Linked DNA regions of Homo sapiens: regions 2, 3 and 4 are each linked to region 1. The links are contacts of gene promoters, found by promoter capture Hi-C in human tissues and cell types (Jung and others, 2019). All regions are on one chromosome and are shown on one strand. The core of a region is centred on a gene start or on the middle of the fragment in contact, and the rest is flanking DNA. Distances in the headings are between cores, read along the strand shown.

Region 1 (2,565 bases), core at 46-2,545:
GGCCCGTTCATTTGCATGCTAATACCCAGAATGCTTTTCCCCCGCACACCGCTTCTCTTAATGGAAGCGCTCAGTTTGGAACCGTGGAAAGTTTGGAACACATACTTCGCTGCCTCTTTGCAACTGTGGGAACTTCCCGCCCGCACACGCGGCGCCTGCAGCCTGGGGCTCCGCGCCAGGCGGCCCAAAGGCAGCCGCCAGCGCTTCCTGGGAAGACAAACCTTGGTGTACAACTCTAGCGTGGTAGCATCCCCGGGCGGGCCGGGGACAAAGCGCCGAGGCCTGGCGGCAGGGCCCATTACCAGAGCACCCGGCGTCTCACAGGGCTGCGGGCGCTGGGGATGCTCCGGGCTTGGAGAGGCCTGAGGGTGTCCCCGACTCCTCCGGCACCCCCACTTCCCTGAGGATTGCTGGGGCTTCCGGGGGTCCCTGCCCCGTCCATCGCCCTCATATTGTCGCCTCCCGGAGCTGGTGACTTCACGCTCCCCGGGGACAAAGCTCGGCGTGCTGTGGTTTGGGGGAGAAGCTGGACGCTGGCTTCATCTCTCCAGCTCTTCCGGGCGCGCAGCCCATCAGATCGATCAATGTACCGGGTGCAGAAGCAGCTCCGGAGGTTCGGCCTGTCTCCGGCCAGGACCCCGGGCCCTCTCTGGTGTTTGAAGCAGGGAGGCGGTCGCAGGCGACTTCTGGGAATTTCACGCATGAAAGCGGGGCTCCGAAGGGTGGACGACGCCCGCTCGACCTGCGAGTGCGCTTCGCAGGCTGGGGGGCCCGGATCCGCACCCCTCAGTTCCTGCCCCCCCACCCTGCTAGCCGCCACTCTCAGCGGGCAGGGGAGGGGCAGTGGGAGCTGGTTTGCTGGCTCGGCGCTTCGTTTGCATTGGTCCGGGGGGGCTGAGACTGCAGCCCCCGGCCCCGCGGGCGGGGTGGGGAGGCGGGGGCCGGACGGGGGCTCAGGCTGCTCTAGCATTGGCGGATCTGGGGAATGGGGAGGGGGGGCAGGAAGCGGGGGGAGCGGACTGCGGGGGGGGGGTGTATAAATAGGGAAGGGGGGACGTGCATCCTCGTCTTGGTGAGGGGGGGGCGCTCGGCACAAAGAAAGTGTAAAGTTTGCAGCGCCAGGCGGCCCGGGCTAGGCATCCGGGCGCGCACGTGCAAGGCCGGGGACGCCGGGGCCCCCACTCTGAGCTCGCCGTTTCTTTTTTTTCTGCAAGCGAGAGGGGGGGTGTTGTTGGTATCGCCCCCTCCTTCTCCTCCCCCCAGGGGTGAAAGTGCAAGAGGAAGTGCAGCCGCTGCCATCTTTCCTCCGCTCCGAACACACGGAGCCCGGGGCCGCACAGCCGCCGCTCCGCCGCCGCCTTCTCCCGGCCTGAGGAAGGGCCTACTCTGCCGCCGCCGCCGCCCGCCCGCTCCAGCCGCCGCCGCCGCCGCCACCGCCCTCCAGGCTCCGGGACCCGGCCCGCGCCACCGCCCCCGTGCGCGCCCCGCCGCCGCCGCCTTCGCCTTCGCCTTTTGTTTCCTCCGCTCCGGCGCCCCCGCCCCGGCTCGCGCTTTGCAGGGGACGCAGCGCGCGCCCCCAGCGGGCCCGGGAAAAGCCGCGGCGCGCGCGCGCGCCTGCGCGGCGGACCCCTCCTTCTCCTCCCCGCGTGCGCGTGCCCTTCTTGGCTGCGCGCCGGCGCCGCCTGGCGGGCGGGAGGGGAGGTGGCAGGCGCGTTTGCAGGAGGGGCGCACCTCTTCGCTCGCGCACCCCCCCGGAAGGTAGACCGGGAAGGGGAGGCGGGCGGGCGGAGAGGAGAGAGTGGCGCGCAGTCCAGCGAGGGCGGGGGTTGGCTATGTGGGGGGTGGTGCACCCCGCAGTCTAGACAGTCTGATCCGGGCTGGGGGCGTGTACACTCGGCGCACCTGCGAGACTACAGAGCCTCGGGCCGGCACGTGTGGGGAGTGTGGACACGTCTGCTGCGCCCCGCTTCTCGCTGCTGAGGGGAAGGGAGGGGGCGGGCAGGTGCAGCGGCCGGGCTAGTGGGAGGGGGCGGCGGCCATGGAGCGGGTGAACGACGCTTCGTGCGGCCCGTCTGGCTGCTACACATACCAGGTGAGCAGACACAGCACGGAGATGCTGCACAACCTGAACCAGCAGCGCAAAAACGGCGGGCGCTTCTGCGACGTGCTCTTGCGGGTAGGCGACGAGAGCTTCCCAGCGCACCGCGCCGTGCTGGCCGCCTGCAGCGAGTACTTTGAGTCGGTGTTCAGCGCCCAGTTGGGCGACGGCGGAGCTGCGGACGGGGGTCCGGCTGATGTAGGGGGCGCGACGGCAGCACCAGGCGGCGGGGCCGGGGGCAGCCGGGAGCTGGAGATGCACACTATCAGCTCCAAGGTATTTGGGGACATTCTGGACTTCGCCTACACTTCCCGCATCGTGGTGCGCTTGGAGAGCTTTCCCGAACTCATGACGGCCGCCAAGTTCCTGCTGATGAGGTCGGTTATCGAGATCTGCCAGGAAGTCATCAAACAGTCCAACGTACAGATCCTGGTACCCCCTGCCCGCGCCGATATAATGCTCTTTCG
Region 2 (2,565 bases), core at 20-2,519, 920 kb after region 1:
CATCCAGTTCGGGGAGTGGGAGTGTGGGGGCAGGGGTACACTGTCCTACAAACAGGACTGTCTATGGACTGCACTAGGCAAGGTTGTAGGGACTGGAGTGTCCCACAGGGACTTTATCACATGCAAGGCTGTGGACTGAACCACACAAGAAGAGAGCTAGGGTTGGGGGTTGGAAAATAGGCTAACACTCACCTCTCCAGCCTTCTTGCCTTTGTCAATGGCATCCGCCAGCACGTAGGAGCTGGCCACGCCATAGCTCAGCCACACCACCGCCGCTGGCACAAGAGAGCGGAAAGCCTCGCCCACCTCATTGGCATAGCCTGGGGGAGGGAACATTTAATTCCTAGGCTCGCAACTGTTCCACGAGGGGGCGTTGGAGCAGGCTGGTTCTCATCCTAGCCAGCTAAGCAGTCCCTGGGTGACCTTAGGCAAGTGACTTGACCTCTCTGAGCCTCCCTTTCCGAGATGTAAACTGGTGCCATGATGCCCACCTCGGACTCGGGCCACTGAGGGCGGACTGAGCACTGAGTCACTGTTACCATTGCTTATTGGTTAGATTTCCTGGTCTTGGTCCCAGGAGTAACTGCACTAATGAGGTGACAGGCACCCAGAGGGGCAGAGTGATCGAGGGCAGCGCCACTGACCAGACGCTCGCCAAGTGCCAGGGCTTTCTGCGCTTTATCCCATTCCACCCTCGCAACCACCACCCAATGAGAGAGGCCCTCGTGTGTATCTCGTTTGTTTTTTGTTTTGTTTTTGTTTTTTTGCCGAGGAGGAAACTGAGGTTCAGACAGAGCCAGTGCGTGTCAGGACCGAAATGGGAGTGGAGATCCCGACTCCACAGCCAGCCAGAGCGCATGCCAGAGCGGGCAGCCCGCTCACCCCATGGGAGCTTCCGCCCTGGGCGACCCACCAGGGTAGTGTGACCTTGGGCAAGTCCCTAGCCCTGTCTGAGCCCAGTCTCCGGCCCAAAAGCAGAATGAGAACTAAGATCATCCCGCCTCCTCCAGGCCCCGGGCGGGCGTCCGGCGACCCCTGCTTCTCCAGCCCAGTGGTGGTGGGGTCGCCGCGCCCGTCGCCCCGCGCTCACCCAGGTATCGCACCCACGTGTCCCGGTAGAGATCGCGCTCTGCGCCCCGCGGCTGCGGCTCTGACATGACTCTCCCGCCACGGCCCCGGCCACTACAGCCGGTACTGGCTCCACTGCAGTCTCCGCCGCCGGCACTTGGGTCTGCCCGGCCGGGACCCGCCGAAAGTCCCGCGCCGAAGGACAGGTCAGGAAATCTCCGCCAGCAGGGAGCGTCTGCAAATTCCCCCCGCGCACCGAAGCCCCTCTCCCAGGCTCGGGTTTTACAGACTGGTTTTCGTCACGTTTTCTCTGAGCTGTTGGCGCTAATCGCTCCCAGGACTGAGTGTAGGTTTTGGAGCCAAAGAGACAGGGGATCAAGTTGGGGGATGCTACACTGCAAAGCTTGTGACCTCGGGCTTATCCAGCATCTCTTTATTCATTTGTAAAAACGAGGGAGGGACACAGGCTGGGCCCGTTGGCTCACGCCTGTGATCCCAGCACTTTGGGAGGCCGGAGGCGGGAAGATCTCTTGAGCCCAAGGGTTCGAGAACAGCCTGGACAACATAGCGAGACCTCGTCTCTACTAAAAAAAAAAAAAAAAAATTAATGTAATAAATAAAATGGGGAACACAATAGTGTCCACTCCCTAGGATGGTTCCGAGGATTAATTATAACAGTCACCATTTATTGAGTTTATTGCCAGTCTACATGTTCGCTAAAGGACTCTCCATGTCTTACACCTGAAACCCTCCCACCAGCCTGGGAGCCCGTTTTACAGGTGAGAAAATGGAGGCACAGAGAAGGTGGGTCATTTTCCCAGAACACACAGCTGCTAAGTGGTGAAGTTGTGATTTGAATCCAAACAGTGTGGATCCAGATCCCGTGCTCTTAATGCGAGCTCTAAATGAGGCTAGAGGAGTGAACGGTGAGCCCCTGGGAGGTAGGTGCCTGGACTCTGGAGTCCCTTCTCAGCAGTCGCCATGTATAACTAGGAAGCACTCGCATTTAACTGGATCAGTATGTCCCCAGACTGAGCTTCTTGGGGACAGGATGTTGGATGAATTAATTAACGAATGAATGAATCGGGCAAGGGAGACAGAGTTGGGGTTAGTGATTACAACAGGAGGAAGCCTTCCCCCGCTGGACCTCAGTTCACCCAGGTGAGCAATGTGTGCACTTCACTAAGTCTCTGTGACTCCTTGGCGGGTATAATTGAGCGGCGTTGGAGACAATCCTGGGTTCAAATCCTAGCTGTGCCGCCTACTGGCTGTTAGCCTCCCTGAGCCCCAGTTCCCACGTCTGCAAAAAAAATGAGAGTAGCCAACATTGACGAGCACTTACTTATACCAAGCTCTTAAGCGCTTTGCACGGCTTATTTCCTTTAATCTTTGCAACAACCCAAAGTGTAATAGTAAGCACAGGGTTTTTGCGTGATACCCGGTAGGCCTTATTAAGAATTAGCTCTTATTTTCATCAAAGGTAGAGAAAATGAGTAA
Region 3 (2,565 bases), core at 41-2,540, 720 kb after region 1:
GGCCTGACAAGGAGGCCTGTGTTTCATATCTACAGAAGGGAAAGGCAAATGGGGAGAGAAGAGGTGGCTGTTGTCCCTAAGGGGAGAGGCAGTGCTCACCCACAGCAGCAAAATCCCTTCCAAGCTCTTTGGGCCGACACTCGTCAAACCCTTCCCAGGCCACCTGGCCACAGGTCTGTGATCTCAACTTCCACCTCCTTCCCCTCCAGACCCCCGATCCTGCCTGCTCAGGCTTCATCCTCTCCACGCTGACCATGACCATGGCCTCCAGGAAAGGGGCATCTATTATGTTATCAGCTCAGCAGTTGTCCCCTCTCTGGGGGGCTGATGTTATGGGGGATGAGAATCAGAAGCTGCTGGTGTCACCTAGAATGTGTACAATGTACAACGAGAGAGGGTGAAGCCTGCATACAGAGACAGGCAGGGTCATGGGAAGTGGAGGCAGAGACACCTGGCAGTGGCACTGGGTCTCTGTGGCTCAGTGGCATTCCCCTCTTCTCGGGGCTGCATGGCTCAGCCTCCTCTCTGATTCTACATGCTCTACACCCGCTGTTGTGGAGAGGCTTGGAGTTCGGTTTCTGGCCCTGGCAGCCAAGAGACTCCTCAACTCACACTCCCCCTTCCCTGAGCTTCTGGCCTTCAACTTTGAGTTTCTGCACTCCGTCTGGATGCCACTGCCACAGGAAGCCTCTTAAAACTCCGTGGGCCTGGGCCAGGCACAGTGGCTCAACCCTGTAATCCCAGTACTTTGGGAGGCCAAGGCAGGCAGATCACCTGAGGTTGGGAGTTCGAGACCAGCCTGACCAACATGAAGAAACCCCATCTCTACTAAAAACACAAAATTAGCCAGGTGTGGTGGTTCATGCCAGTAATCCCAGCTACTGGGGAGGCTAAGGCAGGAGAACCGCTTGAACCCGGGACGTAGAGGTTGCAGTGAGCTGAGATCGTACCATTGTACCCCAGCCTGGGCAACATGAGCAAAACTCCATCTCAAAACAAAACAAAACAAACTCCGTGGGCCACGTCCTTCATCCCTCCCACAGGAGAAAGCAGCATGATCAGGGCTTCCCCTGGAAGAAGGGCTTCAAGAGATGAGTGGGATTTGCCAGAGGAGAAGGGAGGAGAGCGGGGCAGAGCTGAGAGGAGGCAGAGAGAAGAAAGGCACACAGGTGCACAGAATTTGGGGGAATGGTCTTTCAAAAGAGCAGGGTCAGGCCAGGCACTGTGGCTCATGCTTGTAATCCCAGCACTTTGGGAGGCCAAAGCGGGTGGATCACTTGAGGTCAGGAGTTCATGACCAGCCTGGACAACATGGTGAAACCCCATCTCTACTAATAATACAAAAATTAGGCTGGGCATGGTGGTGCACACCTGTAATCCCAGCTATTCAGGAGACTGAGGCAGGAGAATCACTTGAACCTAGTAGGCGGAGGTTGCAGTGACCTGAGGTCGCACCACTGCACTCCAGCCTGGGTAACAGAGCAAGACTGCTTCTCAAAAACAAAACCAAGCAAACAAACAAAAAACAACAAATGAGCAGGTTCTGGGAGAATGCAAATGACTGAAAAGGAGGTGAGACCGTCAAAGTAACAGGGAAGTGATGTGAACAAACGCATCTTCTACAAAGTGCTCTCTGGGGTAATACAGCCCTAAGTTATCGATGGTTGCAGTCTTAGAGGGATTTTTTTGGTTTTAAGAAACACAGGTGGGGCGCGGTGGGTCACATCTGTAATCCCAGCACTTGAGGAGGCGGAGGTGGGTGGATCACCTGAGGTTGGGAGTTTGACACCAGCCTGGCTCACATGGTGAAACCCTATTTCTACTAAAAATACAAAAACTAGCCAGGTGTGATGGTGGGCCCCTGTAATCCCAGCTGCTCAGGAGGCTGAGGCAGGAGAATCGCTTGAACCCAGGAGGTGGAGGTTGCAGTGAGCCGAGATCGTGCCACTGCACTCCAGCCTGGGCGACTGAATGCAACTCCGTCTCAAAACAACAACAACAACCACCACCCTATTTGGGGTGACTTTAGCGAAGGGAAACTACTGTTCTAAGGAATGTCACAGAGTAGCCCTTTTCCCATTCCTTAACTCTGCAGGGCCATGTGGCTGCACAGGGCTACCTCTCTCCACATCTGTCTATCTGTGTCTGCAGTTGAGCTTTCTCTGCTGTGCATTCAGGGGCCTCAAACATAGTCTTCATGCCTGAACCCAGTTGAGGCATCCATGCACACTAACAAGAGAACCATTTCTCAGACTGGAGTCCACAGTGTCTTCCCAGAGATCCCCGAGCTCTGAATAAAAACGTTAAATTCTAATTGTCTTTCATTTTGATGACAATATTCAAACATGAATACCAGCTGGTTCTGGGTAATCTCAGTCTGTGGGTCTGAGCCCTCCCAAGGGCACTCAGCCTATGCGTGGCCATCAGTGACTGCGCTGGTGCCCAGCAGCATTGCGTTATGTGCCATAGGCCACAGGAAGGAAACGGAGGTGGCCCTCATAGTGAATGAAGTGGCTGAGCCAGGCCAGGAGTGCCCAGGCTTCACTGCAGCTTGAATACAGGGAG
Region 4 (2,565 bases), core at 24-2,523, 650 kb after region 1:
CACTTCCTAGCTCTCCGCAAAATGCCAAGATGGACTCCTGAAGGCCAAGAACCGTGTCCAATACATCTGTGAGTCTGTGGTGCCCAGCCCAAGGCCTGGCAACCAGAGGCATCAGGAAAGGTGGGAGTAACTGCCCCAGGCGGGAAGAATAAGCAGCCCTTCCTAAGAGTGTGGGTCCTAAGGACTGAACAAGGTGACTCTCTCCCTCAATCCCAAACACACAATGATGTTAGCTCCCGAACCAGAAAGGGCAAGGACTTTGAGGGGCTGACTCTAGCTAGCTGCCCCAAGCCCCACAACTGCCAAGCAGAAGGGAACTGAGGCCCCAGATCACTCCCTTACTCCACCTCCCCACTTGCCCAAAAACCCAAGCTTGCCAGAGGTCATGTCCGCAGATCACATTCACCCTTGCCAGAGGTCAGGGCCCCCGGCCCTTGGCGGCGGGCCAGAAGCGTGACTTGGCCTGCTGGAATGCATGCCCCTAAACATCTCTAGACTAGTGGCAGTGTCCGCCAACCATGGAGGCCCTCCATCACCATCCCTGCAGCATCACCACCCTCCAACCCCCATGTCCCACCCTGGCGCTTCCATACCTGTAGTAAGAGAGCAAACCATTGCCCAGCACGAACCAGCGGCGCTGGTAGCCCTTCAGATAGTTGGTCCACTTGAGAAGCCAGCCCTCGAAGCTGTCCAGAGGCAGTAAGGCCAGTGGGGCACTGGAGGTCGTGCCAGTCCCCGACATTGGAACCCCAAGAGGAGTCTTCGCCTGTCCTGGTCGCAGAAGAGGCAGGGGCTTTAACGCTGGCAGCGATCCTGACTCGGGTCTGAGAAAGGTCGCGCTCCCCACCGCCCGGGAGAGCGGCTCCGATGCGGCCTTAGTGAAGGGCCCAGCCCCTACACCTGAGCTTGACTCTGACCCCGGCCGCGACCCCTGCAGCAGTTCCGATGGCTGCCCAGCCCCTGGCTCCGGCTCAGACGTCGTCTCGGACACAGGTTCCGATCTTGGCACTGCCTCCGAAACTGCCTCCGACACCTGTTCTGACAGCGGTCCCCGCTCCGGTTCGGGCACGGGCTGGGGCTGGGGCTTGGGCTCCGGCCCGGAGCCGGACGTGGAAGCGCTCATGCCCGGCGCCGCCGTGTGGCACGACAGGCAGGGGACAACCGTGAACAGCGACGAGAGCCCGCGGGAGCGGCCGCCACAGCCGCCGCCTCGGCTCGGAGCCGCCGCTTTCCCCATAGAGCCGGCCGACCCGCGCGCGGCCGAGCGGCCAGTGGGGGCGGGGGGCAGGCCGGGGGCGGGGCCGGGGGCGCAGTCACGTGCGCGCGGCGCGAGGCGGGGGCGCGCGCGGGTTCCTCCGCGGTCCCGTGCGCTCCGTGCCCGTCAGCGCCCGCCGGCTGTTGTGCTCTCGGCCAGCCTCGGGCCATGTTTGGACCCTGGGTCCTTCCTAGGTCCGGCCGGTGGAAGGAGCTCTGACAACACCTGTGGGCGGAAGAGCTTGGTGGTCGGTCAACTCCGAAGGGGATGGCGCGCTTCAGGCCACGGTCTCTGCTTCGGCCCAGCCGTGCCAGGCGCTGGAGGAACAATGATGAATGCGGAGCCCGCCAGCTCCCAGCGCAGCTCTGCCCACGGGACCCTGCGCCGACGCCCCCTCCCCCAACCCAGGCTGGGGTGGGTTCGCTCTCCGCCACCCAGGAAAGCCGGGTGGGAAGCAGGTACGGCACCCAGAGGCCACGAAATGCGCACGAAGCACAGGGGCGCTAAAGGCTAAAGACGACGCCCCGCCCCCCATGGCAGCCATTACCTGTCTGTGGGTCGCTCCTGCGGCCGCCAGAAGCGGTGGCCCCAAGTGGCCGCCTCACCGCCTCCACCTCCTGAGCCAGCTGGCCTACGGTTCATGCCAAGGCGCTTCGCTGCCAGTGACGACATCGTTCGGGTTCTCTAAACAAATAGGGGAAGACTTTTTGTAAACCAAGCGTTTTAGTACAAGAAACATCTCAAAGTGGGATTCTGAACTTGGACCTCCCGGGATCCCTGGGTAGGCTGGCAGTCTGTGAGGCTTCCGCAGAGGTTTACCTGTCTGTGCATTTTTCCAGAGTAGGTCCATAACAAAGGAGGCTGTGACCCCAGAATGGTTAAAACATCAGCGAATTTTTTTTTCCGCTTTTTTTTTTTTTCCTTTTTGAGACTGAGTCTCACTCGGTAGCCCAGGCTGGAATGCAGTGGCGTGATCTTGGTTCACTGCAGCCTCCGCTTCCCAGGTTCAAGCGATTCTCCTGCCTTGGCCTCCCTAGTAGCTGGAATTCCACGGCCCGCACCATGCCCAGCTAAATTTTGTATTTTTAGTAGAAACGGGGTTTCACCATGTTGGTCAGGCTGGTCTTGAACTCCTGACCTCAGGCCAGGATCCTCCCGCCTCGGCCTCCCAAAGTGCTAGGATTACAGGCGTGAGCCACTGTGCCCAGCCATCAGTGATTTTTTTTTTTTCTTAAGAATCTATCCAAATGACGAAAGTTGATGGTTACTACAAATAATCAGAAATACAAATGGAAAGACTGAACATTGGG

Evidence for each region. The method cuts DNA at HindIII sites, captures the fragments that hold promoters and counts their contacts. A contact is called where the count stands out against the background at its distance.
Region 2: the fragment with the promoter of MTFP1 here is called in contact with the fragment with the promoter of PATZ1 in region 1 in 1 of the 25 tissues and cell types used here (H1 embryonic stem cells).
Region 3: a contact is called between a fragment that was not itself captured here and the fragment with the promoter of PATZ1 in region 1, in 1 of the 25 tissues and cell types used here (aorta).
Region 4: the fragment with the promoter of OSBP2 here is called in contact with the fragment with the promoter of PATZ1 in region 1 in 1 of the 25 tissues and cell types used here (dorsolateral prefrontal cortex).

The regions. Positions count from the first base shown.
Region 1 is chr22:31,345,076-31,347,640 of GRCh38, reverse strand. PATZ1 (POZ/BTB and AT hook containing zinc finger 1) reads left to right here and starts at 1,295. Exons shown (of 5, transcript NM_014323.3): 1 at 1,295-2,565. The coding sequence starts at 2,039. It overlaps LINC01521 (long intergenic non-protein coding RNA 1521), which reads right to left and starts at 882. Exons shown (of 1, transcript NR_120386.1): 1 at 1-882. RefSeq lists silencers at 790-1,009, 1,060-1,129, 1,500-1,919, 2,470-2,539. The HindIII fragment of the contact is 10,371 bases long and covers 1-2,565 here.
Region 2 is chr22:30,424,472-30,427,036 of GRCh38, reverse strand. MTFP1 (mitochondrial fission process 1) reads right to left here and starts at 1,269. Exons shown (of 4, transcript NM_016498.5): 1 at 1,091-1,269; 2 at 193-320. The coding sequence starts at 1,157. It overlaps SEC14L2 (SEC14 like lipid binding 2), which reads right to left. Exons shown (of 12, transcript NM_012429.5): 12 at 1,734-2,565. RefSeq lists enhancers at 1-450, 451-1,009. The HindIII fragment of the contact is 6,033 bases long and covers 257-2,565 here.
Region 3 is chr22:30,620,432-30,622,996 of GRCh38, reverse strand. It overlaps TCN2 (transcobalamin 2), which reads right to left. Exons shown (of 9, transcript NM_000355.4): 8 at 1-29. Among named protein-coding and RNA genes, the nearest start is that of SLC35E4, 14 kb to the left of the region's middle. The HindIII fragment of the contact is 9,250 bases long and covers 1-2,565 here.
Region 4 is chr22:30,693,582-30,696,146 of GRCh38, reverse strand. OSBP2 (oxysterol binding protein 2) reads right to left here and starts at 1,273. Exons shown (of 14, transcript NM_030758.4): 1 at 594-1,273. The coding sequence starts at 1,237. RefSeq lists silencers at 1,087-1,136, 1,521-1,600. The HindIII fragment of the contact is 4,458 bases long and covers 1-2,565 here.